3 separate regions of the Homo sapiens genome follow, and all the other regions are linked to region 1. The links are contacts of gene promoters, found by promoter capture Hi-C in blood cells and fetal thymus (Javierre and others, 2016). All regions are on one chromosome and are shown on one strand. The core of a region is centred on a gene start or on the middle of the fragment in contact, and the rest is flanking DNA. Distances in the headings are between cores, read along the strand shown. Region 1 holds the start of GNAT2 (G protein subunit alpha transducin 2). Region 2 has its middle 24 kb from the start of EPS8L3. Region 3 overlaps LOC124904258 (a long non-coding RNA gene).

Evidence for each region. The method cuts DNA at HindIII sites, captures the fragments that hold promoters and counts their contacts. A CHiCAGO score of 5 or more calls a contact.
Region 2: a fragment that was not itself captured here is called in contact with the fragment with the promoter of GNAT2 in region 1 in 1 of 17 cell types (megakaryocytes); the score reaches 5.4 in megakaryocytes.
Region 3: a fragment that was not itself captured here is called in contact with the fragment with the promoter of GNAT2 in region 1 in 5 of 17 cell types (megakaryocytes, M0 macrophages, M2 macrophages and 2 more); the score reaches 9.4 in megakaryocytes.

The regions. Positions count from the first base shown.
Region 1 is chr1:109,618,153-109,621,189 of GRCh38, reverse strand. GNAT2 (G protein subunit alpha transducin 2) reads left to right here and starts at 1,574. Exons shown (of 9, transcript NM_001377295.2): 1 at 1,574-1,707. AMPD2 (adenosine monophosphate deaminase 2) reads right to left here and starts at 1,353. Exons shown (of 19, transcript NM_001368809.2): 1 at 912-1,353; 2 at 1-276. The coding sequence starts at 14. RefSeq lists enhancers at 68-596, 556-605, 1,127-1,655, 1,626-1,675, 1,656-2,186 and a silencer at 1,246-1,435. The HindIII fragment of the contact is 17,616 bases long and covers 1-3,037 here.
Region 2 is chr1:109,786,596-109,789,632 of GRCh38, reverse strand. No RefSeq gene overlaps it. Among named protein-coding and RNA genes, the nearest start is that of EPS8L3, 24 kb to the right of the region's middle. RefSeq lists enhancers at 1,019-1,902, 1,903-2,786. The HindIII fragment of the contact is 4,535 bases long and covers 1-3,037 here.
Region 3 is chr1:109,767,245-109,770,281 of GRCh38, reverse strand. All of the region lies in intron 1 of LOC124904258 (a long non-coding RNA gene), which reads right to left. Among named protein-coding and RNA genes, the nearest start is that of EPS8L3, 4.8 kb to the right of the region's middle. RefSeq lists an enhancer at 1-703. The HindIII fragment of the contact is 5,200 bases long and covers 1-3,037 here.

The DNA of each region.
Region 1 (3,037 bases), core at 325-2,824:
GGATAGGATGCCATGGCTGGGACCACGGCGGCGACAGCGGGGGAGTCTGAGCGGCACCGGCTGGGGCCTGGCTCTGCCACATCCAACCCCTTCCTCCGCCCCGCCCCCAGCGGGAGTGACTGATGCAGGAAGCAGCGGCTCCGCAGGCGGAAGAGGCCCTGGCCACGATTTCTCATGTTGTCTAGGCAACCTCGGGGAGTGGGGCCTCCATCTCTGCCCCTTATCCCTCCCCTGCCTCCTCAGTCCCAGGAGTGACGTGACTGATGGTGGCTGGGCCTGGCGGGGGGCGGGGAGGGGGTGGGTAGAAAAGAAGATGGGGAAGGGCCAGCCCCCAGCTCTCCACTAACCCACCAAGAGCCCTCACCCCATCATGCCAGGGCTCCCGGGCAAAGAAGCCAAAGTCCAGGCTAGCTGGTCCTTCCAGCTAGCCTGGAAGAAAAAAGAATAACAAACAGGAATTCAGCAGCGAGCGAGTCCAAGCTCAAACACAGTCCTCCCGGGGCAGGGCAGGCATACTCCGTGAAAACCCAGCACCCACTTTCCTTCCACATCTGACCCTCAGCTCCCGGGGTAGCCCAGCTCTGGGAGGAGGGGGAAGAACCGAGAATCCCAGCCCAGGAGGGAGGGGCCTGTCCCGGGAAAATTCCACCGTCGCCAAATAGCTACCTCCCAGGAAGGCAGGAAGGCCAGGAGACCCCCTTGTCTGGGGGTCTGGGACAGAGACCCTAGCCTCTTTGGATTTTTCCTCTGTCTCTGCACACTCTGGCTCTGCTCCCCAGGCCCTCCTGGGAGGAGCTGACCGCCTTCCCTAGGTCCTGCTGCTGTGCTGTGACTCCCACCCTCTTGTCACTCTGGCCACAGCACTTCTCTGTCCCAGAGACCCTCCCTCCAACACACGTACACACACTCACCTGAGGCCATGATGCCCGAGTTCCGAGGGGAGGCTGCCCACGAGAAGTCTGTACAGCAGAAAGCCCGGGTCCTGAGGGACGGCAGGGGGATCGGGCCACAGACCCCAGCCAAGTCACTCCAAGGGCCCCTGCCCTGGCACTGAGATGGGGAAAGTAAGGCAGTCTTTCAAAATTGCCAGCTGGCCGGAGGTGGACTCCCGCAGACCTCGGCAGCCGGACTGGCCTCAAGGCGACCCCGGTGTCGCGACCACCCAACCCTGCAATCGAGAGGCTGGTAGGCCACGTGCTCCCAAGGGAGCGGGACCCGAAACTCGTCCAGATTTCTCTCAACACTCCCTGGGCATTCAGGGTCGGACTCCCGCGGCCGGACTGTGGGGGAGTCACGCAACAGGTGAGACCCCACCAAAATCTCGCCGGCTCCGCGCCAGGCTCTGCGGCCCTTGGCCCCGCCCCCGCCTGGCCCCGCCTCCGCCTGCCGACCCCGCCTCGCCATTTTTTTCTCTTCCTGGGCGCCACGTGGGCAGCCACCACACCGCGGTAGGGCTGGCCTGAGCCGACCCTGGGTCTTGGGCCAGTTCCGTGCGTCAGCTTCCTCATCAGTAAGATGGGGTAATGACAGTACCTCACTCAAAGGGGTTACTGTGAAGATTAAACGTAAAGTCCCTTTACACAGTGCCTGGCACGAAGTGAGGGCCCAGTGAAAGGTAGCTGTTATCATTGTCCCAGGATTCATTTTAAGCAGAAGTCCTGCCCCTGCAATCTCACTTGGTCGTCTGTTTTCTTCCGGCCGGCGTAGGTAGGAGGCTGTGCCCTGCAATTCTGGCTCCCCTTCCCACATTTCTGTATTTGGTGGTTAAGAGCTTTAACTCTAGCCAGAATGTCTGGGTTCAAATCCAGATTTCACCTACTTCCTGACTGATACTGGGCAAGTTACCTAACTTCTCTGTGCTTCTATTTCGTCTGTAAAATGAGTGTAAGAGTACCTGCTTTATATGGTGGTTAAGATAAATGAGTTAATATAAGTTAACTGCTTAGAACTGTGCCTGGCCTGTAGTTAGTACTCAGTATTCATGTATTACCATTGCTTTAGCCTTGGCCTTGGTTCTCTATTGACACTCACAGGTTGATTCACTTGCAGCCGTTCTGGGGTCTATCCAACAAGCATCCCCACTGCCAAGGGGTAGATAATCCGACCTAAAGGGAACTTGTGGAGGGAAGTCCCTAAGACTTCACTGAATATAATTAAATGCATTAGCAGGAATTAATCTCTTCCCTATTTTCCCTCTTGTGGGAGGCCTTTGCCCCCCACACCCAGTTGTTCTAATGCTGTTTGTCTGGCTCCTCCCAGTTCTTACCACTCCCACAGCAGAGATCCTTCCCAAACTCTGCCTCCCTCTTCTCTCCCCACGCTGGATTCTGGACCCTGAACCCTTTTCTCCACCTGCATCTGGTGCCACTTCCATTGATCCCTGGCTACTGTTCCCTGAACAAACTTAAAAAAAACTTGGCCTCTTCACCTCACACAGAATCCATAAAACTAAAAAGAGAACAGAGATAACCAGGTTTACCTAATCAAAATAGCAAAGACTAAAAAACAAAAAACCAAAAAATAAACGCTAATGCAGGTTGGCAAGGGTATAGTTAGTGAGATGGGAGACACACACACACGTACATGTGCACAAACACATTACTGGTGGCCTTGAACACTGATATAATCTTTCTGAAAGCCATCTGGTAATATAGAATCAAAATTTTCAAAAAGGTTCTTATTATTTGACCCAGTAATCAACTTTCTGGAAGTTGTTTTTCTAAAAAGAGCTGCCAGAAAAATATGTATGCAAAAAGTTGTTCAGCACCACAATGTGTATTGCATAGAAAAGTTAGATACTTTAAAGGTCGAACAATAGGGGAATGTTTATGTAATATTCATACCATGAAATACAGCCATTAAAAATTGTTCTTGGAGAAATGTTTAATGATGTGGAAATGTTTACAATATAAAGTTAGGTAAAAGAATGGATGCAAAACACTATACACAGTATGGTCCTACTTATGTGATATACATGGGTAGAAAAGAAACACACCAACAAGTTTACCAATGATTATCTGTAGTGATGGAATTATGG
Region 2 (3,037 bases), core at 263-2,762, 170 kb before region 1:
GCCTTTGCCTTTTCTCTTTATGCTCCAGGTGCACCAGAGGTGAGCAGGGGACGGGAGGGTTTCATTTCTGTAGCCCCAGGCGTCAGGCTTCAGAGCCTGAGCTCTCAGCCAGGATATCTCTACAGCTCAGTAAATGCTTGCTGACTGACTGAGAGCAAAATGATCTCTCTGAGGGGGTGGGATCAGGCAGAGATGCTGGGATGGGCAGAGAAGAGGAAGTAGACCAGGGAAACGGCCAGGGGTGAGGCAGATAGGTCTGCAGATGGGCTGGGAGCAGCCTTGTAGGAGCAGAGGAAAGAGAGTACTGTTCTAGGGTGGCCTGAGAGTAAGGGGTAGTGAGGGAAGTGGCCACTAGGGTTGCTGCAGGACACCAGAGGCATCTCTGGGAAACCTGTGGAGCCTGCTGAATGCCTCCAGGTGCATGGTGGGGGCCGGGGAGCAGAGGCCTCATGGACGTAGCAGCCCCAAAAGGGCAGGTGCATGGGGGGTGGTTCCCAGGGGTGTTCAAAGGCAAAAATTAAAATGGTAACTCCCTCTGCGAAGAGACCCCTGGGCATGGTCCAAACTGATTCAACAGCAAGCATACTGCCCTTGACAATGTCCAGAGCCCAGGCCACCACCTAGAGGCCGCACCAGCACTCTCTGGGCCCATGTTGCTGCCCTATGCCAAGACGCAGGTCCCTGGAGGCACGAGCAGCCTGGAGCTGACCTGGGCTTCCTCAGGTGCAACAGGCACATGGAGTGTCTGAGAGGCACAGGAGCAACAGCCAGTGCCCCCTGCAGAGGACCACTGGGGTCACAGACTTCAGACCTGATGACCTGGGCTCAGATCCCAGCTCTGCACCTACCAGCCGTGTGACAAGGTGTCCTCTCTGAGCCTCAGTCACACACTGCCTTAACGGTTGGGCCTCATGGAGCTGTTTGTGAAGGTTAAATGGGAAGACATAAAGCACTTAGCCCAGAGCCAAGGACATGCTGAATAGGATAATGGTGGCCTCCTTTGGCGCTGTGCTGGTGCAGGTGTGCCGAGGAACTGGGCAGGGGTGACAGATACCTCTTCTAACCTAGTTCCTTTCCAAGAACCTAATTGGTGTCTCTCCCTCCCCCAGGCAATTGGAAGGAGGAGGCTGGGCCCCAGCCCCAGAATACGGGAGGTTTCTCACCGTGGTAGGGAAATTGCTGGGTTGGGGGTGTGGGCAACCACAGTGATCGTCTCTCTGCAGGACGGATGCGGCTTTGCTGACAGAGAGTCTGCGGCCTGGACATGCCAGCGGTGCAGGTCTGAGGTCAGCACTGGGGAGCCGGGCTGGGCCCCACCAGGGCGAGACATCTGCTTTCAATCAGCTGCCCTTCTGCCCGAGAAGGGGGTGAGGGCTGAGACCTCCCCCAAGCCCAACTTCTCATCACACAGAATGGACACTGAGGGCAAAGGAGGCAGGAGAAGCTCTAGAGACCCAGGTCAAAGAGATAGAGGTTTATTTTTGTTAAGCCACTTAAACTAAATCCTTCAATAGCTCTCTTTTGCAAGGCCATGCCCAGTCCGGCCAGTCAGCCCCCAGCCTCCCCCCGCGCCGCCCCAGCTCATGCTGCCTTGTCGCAAGCCTCTGGCTTGTCCGCCACTCGAGGGCTTTGCACTCACGCCCTGGGGGCCCCTGCCCTGCCCTGTGCAGGCTGACTTGTCATCCTTCAGCTGAAATCCCACTTACTCAGGAAAGGCTGTGGACGCATTTCTCCAACCCTGTTGACAATCTTGTTGAACACAGTTTGCTTTGTACCTATGTGTTCATCTGCATGGCTACTGAATGTCTGCCCCCCACCCCACTCTAGACTGTAAGCCCCATGCGGGCAGGAGCTAAGGCTGTCTTCCTCAGGACAATATCCCTAAAATTCAGAGCAGGGCCTGCCACAGAGTATGCGCTCAATAAATACTTGCCGAATGAATGAATGACTCATGCCTCTAAATATTTATAGCAGTTTCCTTCTGTAATCTTCAATGGTTTGAGTTCCACCAGATCCCTGCAGGATAATCAGTGCTTACGCCCATTTGACAGGCCCAGGTGAGTTAATGACCCTGGCTCCCAATCCATCCTGACTCACAGTATCAGGCTACCTTTGTCTAGGAGGAGGAGGAGGGACAAACTGGGAGAAGAGAGGCACGTGCCACAGAACCGGAGACCAGAGAGAGGGCTGGGTGAGAGACCAGCAAAGGGTGGGGGCACTGCCGGGGAGCCACATGCCAGCAGCCAGGCCCATCACACCCCATGTCAGCCTGTGTGGAATCACTCCCCATCCTGGAGAAAGTCCAGGAAGATGCCCACTGGGGATGTGCCCCAGCGACCACCCCCTATCCCTGCCAGTTCTCACATCCTTCTCCTGAAATGGCCATGCACTAAGCGGGCTTGCAGTCAACCACCCCAGGGTCAAACCAACGTGCTGCCTCTGACAGCTAAGCAATCTCAGACAGTTTAGTCAACTTTCTGAGCTTCAGTCTCCTCAAATGTGAAATAGTACCATAATAGAGCTGGCCTTAATGAGCAGTGGTGAAGCACCCATGAGCCCATGAAAGTTAAGCACACAGCAGGAAGAACTGGGTCTCTATGTTTCCACGGCCGCCATTGGCTCATGGGGACCATCCGTTGGGTATTGAGTGGTCTTGCTCTTGGCGGTAGACAGGGCTTATTCCCCTCCACCTGGGAGTGTCTTGAGGACAAGGACCTTTGTATCCCCCAGGGCTCCCAGGCCAGCCCAGACCCAGGTTGGGCTCTCAGCTAGATGCACGAACACATGAGTGTTTGTTTGGATCCAGAGTAAAAGCTCTGTGAATTTCCTGCTGATGTCAAGAGCAGGAGAGCTGGGGGGAGGAGATCTCTTCTGCCACACCCAGGCACTGAAGGATGGGTGTGCAGAGGGCAGAGCTGGGAGGAGCAATAAACGCCAGAGAAGAAGAGGACAGAGCATGACTGGAGCGGGCGCAAAACCCAGAAAAAAGGCTGTGTTGGAGTTCAGGAGGCCCTGCAGAGAGCAGATTTGGCCTGGG
Region 3 (3,037 bases), core at 251-2,750, 150 kb before region 1:
CCTCTTGTAATTGTGGGGCTACAAATCACCCCCCTGCCTTCAAATCACGCACTCGCCCTTCGTCTGCCTTTATCGAGGAGGGCAGGCAGGTGGAGGGGTGGGCAGCATGGCAGAGTCTAGCCCAGGTGTGACCAGAGGCTCCAGAGACAAGCCCACCTTCTCCCCTGCCCTCCCACAGAAACCGCCCTCCTGCCATGCGCCCAGGATCTCTGTTGTCTCATCTGTCTCTGCAGTAGTGTGTTCCCACTAGCCATTATGCCAAGTCTTCCACCCTGAACACATCTGAACAAGTTTCTGGTATGTCATCCCTGGCCCACCATCCCATCCCCAGCAAAGCCTCCCATGCCCACTGTCTACACTCGGCGACTCACTCACAGCCCACCTCCTCACCCTCACACTCTTCAGCCGTCCCCAGCTGGCTCCAGCCCCCACTGCAAACCCACAGATGGTAGCCTTTCCTCCACCTCCCAGCAGCACCTGGCCCAGGTGTCCACCCCTCCTTCCTGAAACACTCTCTTCCCAGCTCTCCTTGCTGCTCACTGGCAGCCCCTTAGTCTCCCCTCATCCTTCCCAATCTCTTAATGTTGGAGCGCCTGGGTTGAGTCGTGAGCCCCCTTCTCTTTATCTATACACTTTCCCGCATGTGGTCTCGTGAGTCTTAGGTCTCTGAATGTTATTCGTGTATTTACAGCTGCCAAGTATCTACTGTCTTCTACACTGCAAACGTTCCCCGCATCATTGAATCATCTTTCTCCACATGCTTCTGAATGCCTGCATGTGGTCATCCTGCTCTGCTGAGCTTCTGACTCACACCTGCCCCTGCCTTCCTGCTACTTCCACCCAGAGGCCCAAAACACCTCTCAAACTGAGGCCATCCAGAATGGAACAGTAACTCTTCATATCCCCCTGCCTCCCAATCCCTCTTCTCTTCGGTTTCCCCATCTCACCAGATGTCACCATAACCCTCCCAGTTGTCCAAGCCAAAAACCTGAGTCCTAATAGGTCCTTTTTCCCCTCTCAACCCCCATTCTAATCCATAGCATGTCCCATCCGTTCCACCTGCAGCCTAAGTCTCCATCCTCACTGCCCTGCCATGTCCAGGCCTCACCACCCTCTCTGCAGCAGCTGCTTGTGGTCTCCCTGAGTCCGCCCCCACTCCCCCCACAGCCCATTCTCCCCACCCCAGCCAGAGTTGTGACTAGAACATAAATCCAATCATGCCACTCCTCCATTTAAAACCCCTCCGTGTCTTCCAACTGCCCTTGGAATAAAAACCAGGCTCCTGGCCATGGTCTACGGAGCCCTGTGTGCTCTGGCCCCTGTCCACCCCATTTCGGTCACCTCTCCGCCAGCTCGTTCCTTCTCAGCTGCAAGCCCTTCACATTGCTGGCCCCCTCTCCCAGGCTCCTTCCCATCCCTGGCTTAGCTTGAAGCTCCCCTCCTCAGAGAAGCCTTCTCCGACGTCGTGCTTCCAAACACCCTCCCACCCCCATGCCATCATCCACTTCACTCTATTTCTCTCTTGTCACTTGTCAGGACCTTGATTATCTTCAGATACATTTGTTTCTTCTACCTTGGCAGGTTAGTTGCGAGGGAGGGACATCATCTCTCTTGTTTATGTCTCCACCTGGCTCGTAGAAGCCACTTACCCCTGTGCCAGGGCTGGGGAAAGCAGGGGCAGGGATGGGAGCTGTCTCTGTGATTCCCCAGCAGCCCCAGGGCCAGGTGTCAGCCCCTGGACAGGACCACCATGACTCAGGGAATGCAAGGGCTGGCCCTTAAAGGACACACAGGAGTTCAGCCAAGGGGTGAAGTGGGCAGGGAATTGCAGGCAGAGGGATTGCAGTCCTACTGGATGAAGCGGCCTGGGAAGAAGAGTTGTCAATCAGCCCCTGATTGACATTGAGGCTGCCTCATCCATGCAGTCCACCAGCAAGAGGTGCTGGCTGGACCCTGCTCTGGGGTCTGGTTCTAAAGGTGAGGCGGCACCCATTCACCTCTGAATGCCAGGGCCCTGCCCTACCCCCTGCATGGTCATCCATGAACACAGAGCTCTTTTCCTCAGAGCCCTCCAGAGTTTCCCAGCTCTGACCAGGGCCTGCTCTGGAGCTTCCAAGGAACCCACCCTGCTTCTTGGCCCAGGCCAGGGTGGTGGGAGGGGCTCCTTGGCCCCTTAGCCTAAAGCCTGTGCACCTGGGTCTCTTTATATGCTGAGAACCAGCAAGCGGCAGCGTCTTCCACAAGACAGAAGACCCAGTAGCCTTCTTGTTGCATCTCCATGCAAAACCATTCAATGGCTCTACTCACCACCAGGTGATGACGGCACACATATGCTGTCATCTGCCACCACCTCCCCGCCACATACACATACACATGCACACACACGCGTGCACACACACAGTTCACGCCATACCCATCTTCTCCCCAGGCCGCTTCATCCAGTAGGACTGCAATCCCTCTGCCTGCAATTCCCTGCCCACTTCACCTCTTGGCTGAACTCCTGTGTGTCATTGAAGGGCCAGCCCTTGCATTTCCTCATCTGAGAAGTCCTCCCTGACACCCCCAAGCCGAGTAAGGTTCTTTATGCCTGCATACTACAGTGCTTTTGTTTACAAGCCCTTCTCTCCTCTAGACAGTGGCAGAAAACAATCTGGGTCCTCAGGGACCTGAAGGGGGCCTGCCCCTCCACACCTGTGGGTATTTCTCGTCAGGTAGGACGAGAGACTGAGAAAAGAAGACACAGAGACAAAGTATAGAGAAAGAACAGTGGGCCCAGGGGACCAGCACACTCAGTATGCGAAGACCTGCACCGGTGCTGGTCTCTGAGTTTCCTCAGTATGTATTGATTACTATTTTCATTATCTCGGCAAAGGGAGTGTGGCAGGAGAACAGGGTGAACAGGATGATGATGGGGAGAAGGTCAGCAGGAAAACATGTGAGTAAAAGAATCTGTTCATAAATAAGTTCAAGGGAGGGTACTGTGCCCGGATGTGCACGTAGGCTAGATTTATGTTTCTCTTTGCCCAAATATCTCAGC